Linked DNA regions of Homo sapiens: region 2 is linked to region 1. Evidence: promoter capture Hi-C in 16 types of primary human blood cells and fetal thymus (Javierre and others, 2016). All regions are on one chromosome and are shown on one strand. The core of a region is centred on a gene start or on the middle of the fragment in contact, and the rest is flanking DNA. Distances in the headings are between cores, read along the strand shown.

Region 1 (4,571 bases), core at 1,104-3,603:
AAACTACTTTCTTGTTTCAGAGCCAACAACAGAAAATGGGGACTGTGTAGACTTCTGGTCTAACCTAAATGTGTGAATTAGATTCAAGGAATCTTCCTTGGTAATGAAGGGGGAGCAGCCTGCAGAATCATGAGTCGTAGGGTCAGATTATTAAGAGTTAACAAAAAAACAGGAGTGGGAGAAGATGAGAAAAGCTCCCTCGCTGTTGCTATAGTGGTTGTCATGCAGTAAATACCTCTCATAGAGAGCTAGGGAATTCTCTTTCCTGGATTTTTAATTTCCTTCCGCAGCTTTACTCATGTTCAGGAAGGCAGACAAGTGGTCCTCAGTCACACCTACAACCTAATAGGGCTGTGGGGGATAGACCCATAAAGTAACACCCTAAGGCAGTGGAAGCAGATAACAAATGCAGGCTCCGGGACTAGTGCAGTCAACATCTTCAGTCTTACGTCAGGACGGGAGGATGCCACAGAATGACAGTAACCTAGGTGATACCATATTTTTAATAAACCGGCTGCTGTAATTTGCAAAGAAAAAGAATAGACTAGGATGAAATGCTAACCTGCATCACCTGACTCATGGCAGTCTTCTTATCAAATCATGCTCCCATCCCTGCCTCCCCTCCTCCTGGAACACCCCCATTCTAAGTGCTGGAAGCTGCTAGTTTTTTCCAGTGTACTGAATCAGCGTACCCCAGATACCAGCTTATTCAGATGTTCTAAAGGGTGTTATAGATCCATAGAATTTGGGGGCCAAAGGGGACCCTGCAGAATGACGCAGTCTGAACTCCTCGTGTTCTGTATATTTAACAAACAACCCATTAGAGAAGGAACATGATATGATTAGCCCTGTGAGAGGGAACATGTCAGAGCAAAGTACATCTCTGATGCTTTCTTCCACTCTCCCAGTTTACTCCCCCCACTCCCAAACACAAAAAGTTCCATTTTCTACAAGTGTGGGGGTGGGGCAGGTGGCCTGGGGATATAGCCTGTACAGATGCAAGTCGAGTATTTTTAAGGATTGCTGAGATACCCACCTCCACAGCTTCGGATATGGGTGAGACGCTATTGGTCTTCCTGGAGCCCACGCGGAACTTGGCAGCCTTGTAGATCTTCCAGTACACGAAGAGCACCACACAGAGCGGCAGGTAGAAGGCGCCTACGGTGGAGAACACGGCGTAGGAAGGCTCGCGGCTTACCTGGCACTCCTCGCTGCCCTCAGAGTACGTCTCTCCCCAGCCAAAAAGCAGCGGGGCCAGAGAGATGACAGCGGAGAGTGCCCAGGTGAGCGCGATCATGACGTTGGAGACGCACTTGCGGGTGCGGAGCGTGTATTCCATGTGGCGCGTGATGGACCAGTAGCGGTCCAGGGCTATGGCCGTCACGTTCCAGATGCTGGCCGTGCAGCAAAGCACGTCGCACGCGATCCAAAGCTGGCACAGCCTCCGACCTAGCTGCCAGCGGCGCCCGGACAGCTCGTGCACCAGGCTCAGCGGCATGACCAGCGCGGCCACCAGGACATCCGAGACGGCCATGGATGCCACCAGGTTGTGGGGCACGCGGTGGAAGGTGCGTACACGGAGGATGGTCGCCAGCACCAGCAGGTTCCAGGCGAACGTCGCCGCCACCAGAAAGCCCAGCAAGGTGAGAATAAGCACTCCGAAGACCGAGAGCAGGGGCGAGCTGGGGCGCAGGTCGTCTTTGCCGAGGCTGTGGTTGGTCTCCAAAGGGGAGGGGGTGGAGAGGGAAAAGGAGGTTAGGTTCACAGGTAAATCCATCTCTGGGTCAGGAGACCGCCCTGGGGTACTTGCAGAAGGGGTGTTCAGGAGGACTTAAGGCGGCCACTGTGCCCAGAGCCAATCCGGATGTTTGCAACCTCTGGCCAGTGGGGGAGTTTCTGGAAAGTGCCTGTGAATTTGGCCCCAATTTCCTGCTAGTGAGCATCCGTTGGAGATGGTGTGGCTGCAAGCGCGGCAGGTCTGAAGCCCTCAGAGGCTAAGGAAGCAGAGGCGAGGGGCTGCGTGTCGCAGCCAGGGCCCGCCTAAGCTGTCAGGAGCCCAGGGCTCCTCGCCTTGGTGGAAAGGCTGTTTGGCCGCCCAGAGCCGAGCATCTCCCAGATCGGGGAGAAGCTGGGCGGCCAGCAGCGTGTGGGTGCAGGAGAGGGGCTGGTGCGTCAGAGCAGTCGCTCTCACCGCGTTGTCTCCCTGCCCACCCTTCTCTCTAGGCAGCCGGCTGCAGCCTTAACTCCGTGCTAGGGAAGCCAGTTTTGGGGGAACCTGCTTTCTGGGACCTGCCTTCTGTCCCTGTTGCCCCCGCCACCCCTTCGGAGGCTGCAGCTCCGGAGAGCGAATGCTGGCGCGCCCACCGAGACCTGCCTTATCCAAGTGGAGATCTAGCCCTACGTAAGCCATCAGCTGATAAGGCCATCTCTCCCCGCCTCCTGGCTCAGAGCGCGCGGCTTTGGGGCTGTCCGCGGTGCTGCTGCGCTCCCCGCGCCTGGCGGCTCCCAGTGTGCGCCACCACATGTGGTGCTGTCCGCGGTGCTGCCACCTCGCCCCGCCCGGGAGCAGGAGGGTTGGCGCTGTCCACGGTGCTGCCTCTCTTGCCTGAAATGAGTTTGCCACGTTGAACAAGTTGACCAATGAACTTTCCTCAAAACGTTCCCCTAGCCACCCCCACACGTCCCTCTAGGGGTGGACTGGAGGCCCTAGACACTGCTTTCTCAGCTTTCCATAAGTATTTACTCTTCCTGCAAGAGTTCTGAATTAGGGGTCTAAGATAGTTTCACTAACTTTTGTTCTCCGGAAGATTTTAGCACGTGATTGCTTTCTTCTTACCCAGCTCTCAGTTGCTTCCCTTAAGGGTTGTTTTCCTTAAAGGAGGAGAGGCGAGATAGCAGTTGCTGCTGTTCCTAGAGATGGTTGAGGTGTTGGAGCTAGAATGCTTCACCTGGCTCCAACAGGAATGGCTGAAGAATGCTTTATCTCCTCAGAGTCATAAGGCAGATGGGTAGTCTCCAGTGGTCCCTACTAAATTTGCTTCCTGAGAAGGAAAAATTGGGATACAAGTTATTATAAGAGCTCCATCTCACTCAAAAGAAAGAGGTAATTTAACTCTCCCCTCACACATGCACACAAAACAACCACAAACACATCCACAGAAACTGAGAAAATATCAGAAGCTTCTAACCAGAAATTATGATTGAAAGCACCTCATAAAGAGGCACATGATATAGCAATATAAAAGAAGTTGAAATTTTAAAAATGATGGACAGAAATGGCAGGAAAAAAGTAAGGTGTTAATAAGCTTTGTTTTTAAGTATATAAAATGAGTGTCGTGAAATCCTGTGCATTTACAAGTAAATTTAGTCAGAAAGTTTTAACTATTTAAAGATTAGCAACATGTTTTCATATAAGATTTTGTTTCTTGCAGAGTAAAACAAGTATCAGGAGAATGCACTGAGAAAAGAGAAAGTCCTCCACTGGAACCTAGAGGACGGGACAACATCATTAAATACCGGATTATTCACAGGGCTGTTTCAAACACCACTTAAAAACAGCTGATGGTGACTGCCTGCATGCAGAGCAACTGTGCATGGCCCCAATCTGGAAGCAAGCTTGTGCTTCTTTAAGGCAAATCACCTTCTTGAGGTCATGGAACTAATGGGAATGAGATGTAAACTATGAATCCTCTTCTTTGGAAAAAGTTCTGCATCTAGTCTCAGGGCCTGTTATCTGGAGGAATGGATGAACTGTGTTGCCCACAGGCGGGCCTCAATGGATCTCTATGAATCTTGAAAGGCATTATGGGCTTGTGATTATATTCCCTACTGATTCCCCAGGCCACAGCTGTCTGTATTGATAGCTAAGTGAGCAGCAGAATAGTTAATAAGGACAAAGCCAAGGATGACTGAGGATAATTTGTGAAAAATAGAGTGTCATAAATTTAGGGACTGAATAGAATATTCCCACAAAGGAGAGATCCAATGGAGCATTTCCAGAAGGGACAAACCCTGTTCAGAAAGTCTGGCTTATCTCTTAAAAATACACAAATAAAAAATCATAATATTTCAGCTTCATCTTAAAGCATAGCCCCAATTTTATCTTGAAAAACACTGAAAAGGAAAAGAATCTGAAAAGGTATAAAACTCCCGTCTGCCATATGGTACCTCTGAAATGGCAGTATTGGGAAATATACCTTCCTGGGTTGTCACCTCTTATGGGTTAAACTGTGTCTCTCCTTCCCCCCTCCCTTACCCCCTGCCAGATTTATATATGGAAGTCCTAACCCCTAGAACCTCATAGTGTGACTATATTTAGAAATAAGATCTTTAAAGGGATGATTAAGTTAAAATGAGGCCATAGGATAGGGCCTCATTCAATCTGACTGACATCCTTATGAAAAGAGGAAATTTAGACATGCAAAGAGACACCAAGGATGTGTGTGTGCATAGGATAGACCACGTGAGAATAAAGCAAGAAGGTGGCCATCTACAAGCCAAGGAGAGAGACATTAGAAGATACCAGTATTGGAAGATTAGAAGATATCAAGATTGGATTTCCAGCTGCCAGA
Region 2 (4,568 bases), core at 1,023-3,522, 230 kb before region 1:
CTATTTTTTTTTTTTTTTTGTATTTTTAGTACAGACGGGGTTTCACTGTGTTAGCCAGGATGGTCTCGATCTCCTGACCTCGTGATCCGCCCGCCTCAGCCTCCCAAAGTGCTGGGATTAAAGGCGTGAGCCACCGCGCCCAGCCTCTCTCCTCCAGTTTTAAGATACGAGAACATCCAAACATTTTCCCCCAAGCTTAAAGAATAAAAAGGATGAAGAGAAAGCTGAAGTAAGGAGAATTATAATTACACCAACTATCCTATTTTGAGTTATCTTTAACATTTTTTTCTGTAAGCAAAGGAGCACAGCAGGGATTACTTAATGAAACTATCTTCAAAACGAAAATGTTTCCTCCAACCATTTCTAGATGTTTAGAACTTATGAATGTTGTGAAATTTCTACCTCCACCAAAATAATGCTTATTTCTTAAAACCGATTTAAAAAGCCTTGACATATAACAGCACCAACCTATCAAACAGAAATAACCAACTCTTTAAATGTTATTCAAGTTGTAGTTATAATGTGTAATTAGTCAATCTGGTTGAGGACAATTTTATTCTAAAAACCTTCTTAGGAATTCTCTCCCAAAGAGTACCGAAACAAAAATCTCAAAGCAAGAAAGCAATGATGGAGTTGCCAGCTCTCCTTTGAAGACTATTAACGGGGATGATGGCGAATGCATGAAAACAACATACTATTTCCATGTGGGACCATCCGACCAGATTTTTAATATTAAAAAAAGCAAGGCCAGGCTCACGCCTATAATCCCAGTGCTTTGGGAGGCCAAGGTGGGAGGATGGCTTGAGCCCACGAGTTCGAGCCCGGCCTGGACAAGGCAGGGAGATAACATCTCCACAAAAAGCAAAAAAGTTAGCCGGGTATGGTGGCATGTGCCTGTAATCCCAGCTACTCGGGACGCTGAAGCGGGAGGATTGCTTGAGTCCGGGAGCTCAAGGTTACAGTGAGCTATGATGGCACCACTGCACTCCAGAGCTCTGTCTCAAAAAAAAAAAAAAAAAAAAAAGGCAAGCAAAGTCCTTTCTTCTCCATCATGAGAAATTTGGCAGCAGAGAGTCAGTAACCAGTGGAAGACTGCAAATTCTACCTGTAATTACTTCTGGTTTTGTGAAACAGCCAAGTGGTCTTCAAATTCAACTCCTCACAGAAGGGTATCAGCTGGCAAAAATAAATGTACTGTTTTAAAAATAGCATGAGGTACTAAGATAAGTTTTCCCAGAGCTTATCTCCGAGAGCAACAGCTCTAGGTTTTTGTTGTTTTTTTTAATTTACTTTCTTTCAGCCTGCCAAAGTCAACTCAAAATAACATTTAAAAGTCCACCTCTATGTTTTTAAATTGAAGTGCTAAGATGTCAATTTTTAACTAATGAGAACTGCTAAAGCCATCCTGGAGTTCACTACCTTTCCGTCTCCCTCAGGGGGGCTGTGAGAGAAGCTCTGCGGGGTAGCACTGCTTTCTCCTGCAGCTGAGAACAGATGCAATGTTCAGGCAGGACAGTCCGTCTACATGGTGACCCGGCCACGTGCAGCGGTGCTCTCATCACCACTTCTCCATGCCCAGGGCCACCTGCCCCACAGAAAGGTGCTGCCTGCCTGAACCAGGCTGTCCCCTTGCCCACCCACATTAGTCCCTGCCCTGGCCCGAGACAGACTCTGCAGCCTCAGGCTCGATTTGCTTGACTGTGGACTAAGAGGCCAGCATCATCTGCATCCACTCTGATTTTGTGAAAAGAAACACTGGTGGACTGATGCTCAGGGAGCAAAGTATCACTGCATGAGGTCATCCAGATCTGCTTCCGATGGTGAAGGAGGAGGGGACACTCACACACCAGTCACTTTCTCTACTGCTTACTACAGAAATTTCAAGAATTCAGAACACTGACCACATCTGCAATTCAAAGGGGCAGTGCGAGGGCTCTAGTTCCTTTTCTAGATCAAATATTATGAATTTTTATAATTTAGCAAAGAATTACCTGGGTATCATTACCTATTTTTTTAAATATAAGCTTTTCTCAGTAGTTGTCACTCAAGTCTGAACCAGAATATATGAACGCAAATTTGAATGTATCATGTAAAGTCATTCTATCAAGGTAAAGAGACGCAAGTTTTAGAAGATAATATGATCATTTCACTTACCATAGCTAACTGTCGTCCTATGTTCCCCACCGTGACGCCTCCTGAGAAAAATATACAAGGGAGCCAAGAACGAATATAGAGGAAATCTGGGGATGTATACCTGGAGCGAGAAAAGAAACTGTACCTTAGCAGTCAATTTCACCTGGCTCAATTCTACATCACAGATTCTCTGTAGTGGGGATATGCAGAACGCATATCAACCATCCAATGTTACGAATGTTCATATTTGTTTGGTTGTAACTGCTACTACTTGGTTTTCCTTTGCGTTACATTAAGTTATGGATAGCAGCATTTTTGAGAATTTCATGCCTAAATCTGTATCATTCTATATAAAAAACAAATAAAATATGAAAATATCTAAGCTTAGTGGATGTTTTAATGAAAGTTAAGTAAGCTTTCCAAAGCCAATATTTGAAAACACACACTTACTGATAGACACCATTATACACGAGAAACTGCGTGATCAGCGTAGCTAGAAAAGCTATGGTGATCCCCAGCCCAAGGCCACTTCTGGAACGATCAAATGTCCACCAAAGGCCCAAAGATAGGGCTGCTAAAGTCAAGGACAGCTGGACATTATTGGCAAAATCCAATTTCTGGTGATATAAAAGTTAAGGAAAAGTTTGCTGACTCTTATTAAGATAAAAAAACGTAAAACCACAAGGGTTAAAAACATGGGTATTTTATTATTGTACCACAGATAATTCACTGTCCATAAAAACTGTGTAATAAGCTAAAGAAAGGATTTGTTGGATACAGGTTACAGTAATCATTAAGATCACCTGAAATCTCCCTGCCATCACTGAGTCAAAAACTTAACCATAAGAATAAACTTGCTGAAAGCTATATATAAAGTGCTTATATATATTTATATAAATATATATTTATTATATATATTATATATATTTAAAAATATATATAATATATATAAAAATATAAATAAATATATATTTATTTTGACCATAAAACAATATATTTTACTATGAAGTCATCGATAGCCCCATTCTTCTTTCTCTTTTTAGTAATCTGAAATGGGTAGGTACCACCATCATGTCTGTATTATGACATGGAGTCATTTGAGTATATAACAAAACAAAACGCTTCAATATATAACCTAAGAAGATACTCTGGACGTAGCACAGAAAATTAAGGATACAGCACTGGCGTGGTTAATGCCAACAAAAACTGCTATGCAGCGCATGACACTGGCCCATTCTCTCTTAAATTTGTGGGGTTCTCCGAGGTGACTGTCGATACAGGGGTACAGTAGGCCAACAACAGCTGTTTTAAAAAAGTTGACAATGTTAGAATACAGCAGATTCAAGTTCCAGAATTTCAACGTGGTCATTAGTAACACAGTACATTACTCAAACCAGTCCTTTTCCTAGAAAAAATTATCAGCTATAACTTCAGAGTGATTTTATATTCTTGTTCTCTTTGAGTACCACTCCCACAAAATTGTACTGTTTGGAAAAGTTTTTTAAAAATCACTATTATTTAGTGTAGTTGAACATGTCTCAGTAAACACAGGAAGGAATCAAGCAGGGATTATTCATATTAATATGAGCAATATGTAACCTTATATTTAATATCCACATTTGCCTAAAGCACACAGAACTTAAATGACTATGTAGTTCACCTTGTCTTTTCATCCGGTGTGATTTCTATCTTACAATAAAAAGGTTAGCATCTGTCCACACCCTGTCACATCACAGCTCTGACACTCCTGCCACCACCCAGTACTGGGGCTGGGCACGTGATGAGATACATATTTGCTGATGTGACTTTGACAGTCTGGGTCACATGCTCCTAGAGTGGCCCTGGAGTTGATTTTCGGGGGTTCTAGCATGTTCTGTACGAGGCACTGAGCACCTACTGTGCACACATGCACATGGGCAAGTACGGGGCGAGACAGCCCCACACAGGCTTCGCTTATTCTCCATCTGGTTCCCGCATGGTCAAGCCTCAAGCTGCGGAAAGAACACCAGACCAAGAAGAGAAAACTCAGCCTCAAATCCCAGCTTGCCCTCTGATGGGACGTGGCTCTGCATGTTTGTTTTCTCATGTGTAAAATTATAAGGATTATGTAACTGGGACACAGAGAAAGAGATCACTGTGGTCTGGAATAGTTATTCTTTATAGACACGAACTTGGAATTTGGACAGGTGGGAAGGAATGGCATTCCAAAAGAGAAGTAAAATGGCAAAGATGAAGGCAGGAATGAATGTCTGTAGGGGGGAGTGGGGTGCCGGCCCGTGGGGTTGGATGCTGGGACACAAGGGTCACTGTGTCCCAGGGCTCTTGAGAACCCTGCAATTGTTTCACCTCAGTGTAGTATGAAAGAAATATACATTTTAGGTTCAACTGAGAAACAAGAAACACAGTTTGCATCAAACATTCAGATAAAAAATGTT

What was found. Contacts are between HindIII fragments. The CHiCAGO score rates a contact against its expected background, and 5 or more counts as called.
Region 2: a contact is called between a fragment that was not itself captured here and the fragment with the promoter of HTR5A in region 1, in 1 of 17 cell types (fetal thymus). The highest score is 7.6, in fetal thymus.

Annotation. Positions count from the first base shown.
Region 1 is chr7:155,068,106-155,072,676 of GRCh38, reverse strand. HTR5A (5-hydroxytryptamine receptor 5A) reads right to left here and starts at 2,353. Exons shown (of 2, transcript NM_024012.4): 1 at 1,037-2,353. The coding sequence starts at 1,777. HTR5A-AS1 (HTR5A antisense RNA 1) reads left to right here and starts at 1,120. Exons shown (of 2, transcript NR_038945.1): 1 at 1,120-1,643; 2 at 3,432-4,571. RefSeq lists enhancers at 978-1,804, 2,592-2,661 and a silencer at 2,392-2,481. The HindIII fragment of the contact is 4,035 bases long and covers 1-3,182 here.
Region 2 is chr7:155,300,433-155,305,000 of GRCh38, reverse strand. INSIG1 (insulin induced gene 1) reads right to left here. Exons shown (of 6, transcript NM_005542.6): 3 at 3,311-3,435; 4 at 2,584-2,750; 5 at 2,155-2,254. Among named protein-coding and RNA genes, the nearest start is that of INSIG1-DT, 3.7 kb to the right of the region's middle. The HindIII fragment of the contact is 492 bases long and covers 2,027-2,518 here.